Linked DNA regions of Homo sapiens: region 1 is linked to region 2. The links are contacts of gene promoters, found by promoter capture Hi-C in blood cells and fetal thymus (Javierre and others, 2016). All regions are on one chromosome and are shown on one strand. Each heading gives the region's core, a stretch centred on a gene start or on the middle of the fragment in contact. The rest is flanking DNA. Distances are from core to core; before and after follow the strand shown.

Evidence for each region. The method cuts DNA at HindIII sites, captures the fragments that hold promoters and counts their contacts. A CHiCAGO score of 5 or more calls a contact.
Region 1: a contact is called between a fragment that was not itself captured here and the fragment with the promoter of FN1 in region 2, in 1 of 17 cell types (total CD4 T cells). The highest score is 5.9, in total CD4 T cells.

Annotation. Positions count from the first base shown.
Region 1 is chr2:213,241,355-213,244,485 of GRCh38, reverse strand. No RefSeq gene overlaps it. Among named protein-coding and RNA genes, the nearest start is that of SPAG16-DT, 41 kb to the left of the region's middle. The HindIII fragment of the contact is 4,627 bases long and covers 1-3,131 here.
Region 2 is chr2:215,434,492-215,437,551 of GRCh38, reverse strand. FN1 (fibronectin 1) reads left to right here and starts at 1,484. Exons shown (of 46, transcript NM_212482.4): 1 at 1,484-1,897; 2 at 2,728-2,856. The coding sequence starts at 1,750. It overlaps FN1-DT (FN1 divergent transcript), which reads right to left and starts at 1,861. Exons shown (of 2, transcript NR_187198.1): 1 at 1,243-1,861; 2 at 1-633. RefSeq lists silencers at 1,301-1,390, 1,401-1,460 and an enhancer at 2,973-3,060. The HindIII fragment of the contact is 4,490 bases long and covers 1-3,060 here.

The sequences.
Region 1 (3,131 bases), core at 102-2,601, 2.2 Mb after region 2:
CACTCACAAAATTGTATATATATCATGAACATAGAGCTTGATTAATTAACACACAAACTGAACACACTCGTGTAACCAGATCAAGAAAAAGAACATTGTCAGGTTTGTAGAGTATTTAAAACAAGCTCAGTGCTTTGTATTCACACATTTATTTAAAATAATGTTGTAAAAGAACAGCATCATCCAGCCACAAAACTTAGGAAGAAATGTAATTTCAACTTAGAGAGCAGGCTCATAGTTCATTTTAATCAATTAAAAATTAAAATGTTTTAATATGATAAAACACATAATGGGGTGCTTTTAACTAAACATGCTTTATAAATACCTTGATAATTTTATAAGAAGAAAATTGAGAGAAGTAAAACAGATTTTGATAAGATTTCTAATATTTATTCATCATTTTAAAATGTGAAATTTGAACATTAAATAAAAATTTCCTAGTAATTTTGATAACTTTAAATGTATATTTCTATTCATGTTGATGTTAAAAAAAAAAAAAAAAGGTTCCCCAAACTTTACTCTCAAATCTGAATGTGCATTCTACCAGCCTGGAGGCTATTGTCAAAATGCAGATCTTGGTTTGATCTTTCTAGGTTGGGGCCCAGGAGTCTGCGTTTCTGACAAGTTCCCATCTGGTGCTGATGTTGCTAGTTCTTGTGCCACACTTTCAGTAGCAAGGGTGTAGACTTCAACTTGGATATATTTAATAGATATCATCACGTAATATTTTGTCGTCTTTCTAGCTCTTTCCCAGTCTCTGGACGTGCCATTTATTTTTGACCTTTTCTTTTCTTCCCTGTTTTTGGTTTGTAAAAAAAAGCAAAAAAACTCCTATTACTGTGAATTGTCTGACTTCATATTCTCAGTGGCGGAAATTCCCTCAAAAACCTCTCCCTTCCCCTTGCCTTGGCACATTCTCCTCCCACTCCCCACACCTGCAGCTTCCTGTAAGCACTTTGATTTTCAGAGGTTAGTTTCTACCTCCGTCTAAGGTTCACCTTAATTCTTCAGTGTGGTTCTGTGTAGTAAAATGAAACTGTAATATCAATGTCCTGGACCCATGAAGGCCAGAAAGCTCAATGATTCAACAGTTTAAAAAATCAATTCTGCTTAAAAACAAACAAAACCCAGAGATATCTAAGGCAGCTGGGCTGTAATACTACAGTTCATCAGCTGGTACCACTATCTGATAAATTTTGTACAATCCTGAAATATTACTGGTTTTTATGTTTTGATTAATGCAAAAAATTAGTTCCTTTATATCAATTCTGCAAGACTGAAGTGCAATAATTTCAAGAATGAAAACAACAGTTGGCGATTTCCAGTATGAAAAAAGGGTCTATGATGCTAACTTTAAAGGTTATAAGACAAAAACAGAACATAAAATTATAAATTTAATTATGACTGGATAAAGCATAAATAACTTTAGATAATGGTTGATTTTCAAATAATATAAGAATTTATCCCATATAGACTTTTAATTCAAAGACTTCGTAAATAAAGGCAATAAAAGATCAATAAAGTTTAAACCAAGACACAAAATCTCCAGAATTCTTTAATATCAACTTTGTATAATGAAAGAAAGAAAAAGAAAAACCTATCAGTAAGATGAATATATGAAATTATGTCTTATTCAGCAATTTGCTGGTAATGGAATTTTCTGACCTGAAAATCACATAATTATTAACCATCTATAATGAATCCATCTATATTCAACTCATTGAGATGTATAAATAATAATCAGAAAAATCAGTCAATTCTGAGCCTTTGCAAGACAAATGTATATATATTTTACAAGATAGGTCTATGAATTACTTCAATTTATCTGTTCCATAATCTGATCTAAATTTTTAATTCTCTTTGCAGTTATGAAACAGTAGTGACAAATGAACATATCAAAAACAATTAAATATATCTATCTGCATTTCTGATTCATTCAGATCATGTTCTAATGAGCCCTGGTGTGAGAATTGAAAACTTGGAATCTAATTTTGTCCCCAGCACTAATTAGCTTGTGATCTTGAACAGGTCAACTAAATTCTCTGACTTCTAGTATCTGATATTGGAACAGATCTTTGGTGCTAGACAGGAAGATTGTAAGAATCCCAGGAGTAAGCTCAGAATCAAGTCTCATTCTGACCTTAAACCCAGCTTCTAAAACTTAGCTTCTTGACACTTAAGACCAGATATTTTGTCCCCACTCCTGGTCGAGGATTCTGGTCTCTGCCTTTCTGCCCATACTTCTGCTTTGGTTCTCATCCAGGATTGTAGTTGCTCTAGGACTAAGATGCAGACTTATTCTTCTAACACTTGCTTAATACTTCAGATTTTCTTCTAAGCCCCAATGTCCATAGCTACCTTCTTCCCTTTGACTCTTACACTGCATAGATTTCTGGCTAATGTTTCTTGCCAAAACCCTCTTGATTCTGAGATTTGCCTATCTACCTGGTCTCCACTTGCTGCTGAATCTCTCCTCATCATACAGCCAGTGTTTTGTAGGGTCTCCACGTCCCGCCCTAGCCTTCGCGAACCATGCAGTTGTTGAAATAACATTGACTTCAAATATCAGGGTCTACGCATGGGATGATGGTCTGCGGGTATAAAACTGAAAATGTTGTTGCAACAAGGCAAACAGGTCAGATGGGGGGAAAAGTGATGAAGTGTTGCATCACTTCAATAGTATATTTTCTTGACCAAATATAGTTGTCATGAAAATTAGCAGATTCAGAGAAAAAATATAGCTTAGACAACTGCTTGCTAATATCAGTTCTAAAAGCATGGTAAAAGTTTATTTCCCATAGGTCATTCAATGACATGTGCTTCTAAGTTAAGTGCCAGTATCTGTAACCAATATCTGTTCTAGGAGCTCTCATTTAAACAAGTGAAAATACATCAAAAGAACTGAAACAAATCAGCAGTCACCATTCAGGATTTATTTGTATTAATCTACTTAACTCAAAACACTTTTTTTCTTGATCTCTACTGTTTACTGCACCTATATCTTAAAAAACCATAAGCCATATACAACAAATACAATAGATAGGAATGTGTATAGCTGGCCAATATTAAAACATCAGGATTGCTTCACATCTGATACCTCTTATTGCAGCAAACCCTGCATCTTCAGTCAC
Region 2 (3,060 bases), core at 235-2,734:
CCTTGCCGAAATAAATATATTTTATTAGTAGCTTCTTGTGTTTTAAAGCAAATGGAACCTCTGAACTCCTAACACAAGGAGAAGGCAAAGCATTCAGTTCGGGTCTCTCTGGATCTACTGTGGAAGTGGTGGACTCCTCCTTCTGAAGATCTTTAAAAGCAATTGTGCCTGTGTTTATCTGACAAAAAGGACTGATGTGATGTGTTGCTAAATGAGAGACTTTTCAGATTCCCTTTCCACTCTGAGTTTAGAGTTCAAGGCGGGGGAATCTTAAAGGAGAACTTTCCACACTCTTGGAGTAAATAACAATTGAAATATAAAAAATCTGGCGGCGGGGGATGGAGGGGGCATTCTGTAATGGAACTTGTCAGCAAAAAGAAAATGGCAAATAAATGTGAGAAAGGGGCCGAAGGAGGGCAAGACAGTACATAGGGTGCCCCCCACCCACCCGGCTTTTAATGATTCAAGCAAAAAAATCTCTGCTTTGTGTGTAACTGGCACGGTGAACGTGGGAAAGGACACGAAGACCTTTCTCTCCCCACAGCTGGTCCAACTTTCCAATTTTCAGGTTGTTCACAGTGATTTCACTTTCAGTGGAAACGGGCGTCCCATCCCCAGGAAAGGAAGGCTTTCCTGCATGTGTAAAAAAGTAAACTGTTACTTTGTCCTTGCAAAAGAAAACTTCATTCTCTGAACTTCCCCGGGATCTGCAAAGCGCCCCGCGGAACTCCCGGTACTTAGTAGAAGCTCATTAAAGGTCTCTGTTCCCCTTTGCTCCCCGTTCGCCCGCTGGCCCTTTCTCAGAGCCAGACAGGCACAGCGCTGAGAAGGGAAGAAGTCCGAACAGGGAGCTGTGAAGACAAAATAAGGGAGTCCCGAGTCAGTACCCTTTAGTCCAAAGAAAGGGAGCGGGATGGGGGGAAAGGCAGCCCCGCCCTGGGACTGAAAAGTCTGGATTCTTAACAGCTGCAAGGTCGTGGATATTTTATGGGTTTTCTTCCTCACAAAATACACTCCTATAAGCAGAGATTCCCCCCCTCCACCCCGAAGAGAGGTGACGCAATGTCCTCAAACACTACCACCACCCCCAATAAAAAAGAAAAGGGAAGGGGGAGCGTCTTGCAACCCCTTCGCTTCACACAAGTCCAGCCACTCCCTTTCCTCCCAGCCGCTTCCCATCCCTTCCCCCATCCCCTAAAAAGTTTGATGACCGCAAAGGAAACCGAAAAAAAGTTGTCTTGCCCCAGTCCTGGCGGGCCATCAGCATCTCTTTTGTTCGCTGCGAACCCACAGTCCCCCGTGACGTCACCCGGAGCCCGGGCCAATCGGCGCGCGGTCGGCTGCGGCGGCCGGCGGGCGGGCGGGCGGGTGGGGTGGGGCGGGGCGGGGACAGCCCGGCGGGTCTCTCCTCCCCCGCGCCCCGGGCCTCCAGAGGGGCGGGAGGGGACCGTCCCATATAAGCCCCGGCTCCCGGCGCTCGGACGCCCGCGCCGGCTGTGCTGCACAGGGGGAGGAGAGGGAACCCCAGGCGCGAGCGGGAAGAGGGGACCTGCAGCCACAACTTCTCTGGTCCTCTGCATCCCTTCTGTCCCTCCACCCGTCCCCTTCCCCACCCTCTGGCCCCCACCTTCTTGGAGGCGACAACCCCCGGGAGGCATTAGAAGGGATTTTTCCCGCAGGTTGCGAAGGGAAGCAAACTTGGTGGCAACTTGCCTCCCGGTGCGGGCGTCTCTCCCCCACCGTCTCAACATGCTTAGGGGTCCGGGGCCCGGGCTGCTGCTGCTGGCCGTCCAGTGCCTGGGGACAGCGGTGCCCTCCACGGGAGCCTCGAAGAGCAAGAGGCAGGCTCAGCAAATGGTTCAGCCCCAGTCCCCGGTGGCTGTCAGTCAAAGCAAGCGTGAGTACTGACCGCGGGCTGAAACAGGCTGCCTCAGGGATGGGACCCTAAAGCCGACCAAAGTTGGGGCTGAAGTTTTGTGCGCGCGCGTGTGTGCGAGTGTGTGCGCGCTTTACTGAGAGAAACCAGCTGTGCACACAAAAGGACCGAGTTTTGAGCACGCTGGTTCTGAGGGCCTGGGATGATAAGACCGTGCATTGGAGGACGAGGACTCTGCGACTTTCCCGTGTTCTAATAAATTCTGCACGTTCAGATTGTCCTTCTAGGAATTAACCAAAACTTGCCTTTAAAGAGAAAAATGATGCATGTCTATAAATTTTCCGTCTGGGATTAGTGTGGTCCTTACTGCTACTTATTTCCTTCTGTTAAATAATTGGTCAAATATTTTCAACATGGGGGTGGAAAGGGGGTATTGAAATAGCTGTCTTGTTTCTAACTAACTTGGAAGAGATGTAATTGGTTCAGACCTCTTTAGGGCCGCTCAGGATACTTCACCAAGAACAGAGGTTGGAATTCTTTCCGTTTTTCAAAGACACACCCTCCTTTTGCTTTGAGAAAGCTGCTTAAAGTTGTCCTTTTTGACTATTACTCCAAAAGAATATTTAAGTTCCTTGCATGTTTTAAAAATGTGACTTCAATTGTCTGCCTTCCAAAATGTTTCCAACTTTTTTATGTAGACCCCTGGCCAGATGGAAATGACATCATTGTATATAACTTTTAGCAAAGTTAAAAGGAAAAAAATATGTACGTCAATATTCACATGAAGAAAATTCCATAATTTTGGGAAAAGGAGAAATGCAAATGTAACGTTTTCCTTCAATTATTTGCAGCCGGTTGTTATGACAATGGAAAACACTATCAGATAAATCAACAGTGGGAGCGGACCTACCTAGGCAATGCGTTGGTTTGTACTTGTTATGGAGGAAGCCGAGGTTTTAACTGCGAGAGTAAACCTGAAGGTAAGTGACAACAAGCCCCATAGTTAGTATCTTTTAATACATGAAGTGGTAATTGTTAAACTTTGCATTAGTAAGTAAAAATACATACACCATTTTTCTAATAGAATTACCTGTCATTTCCTCTTAAGTTTAAAAACTGCTTATATTTGCTTTTCACATGCTTTTACCTTTAAAACAAAGAAACGAATCTTTCCCAAATTAGTT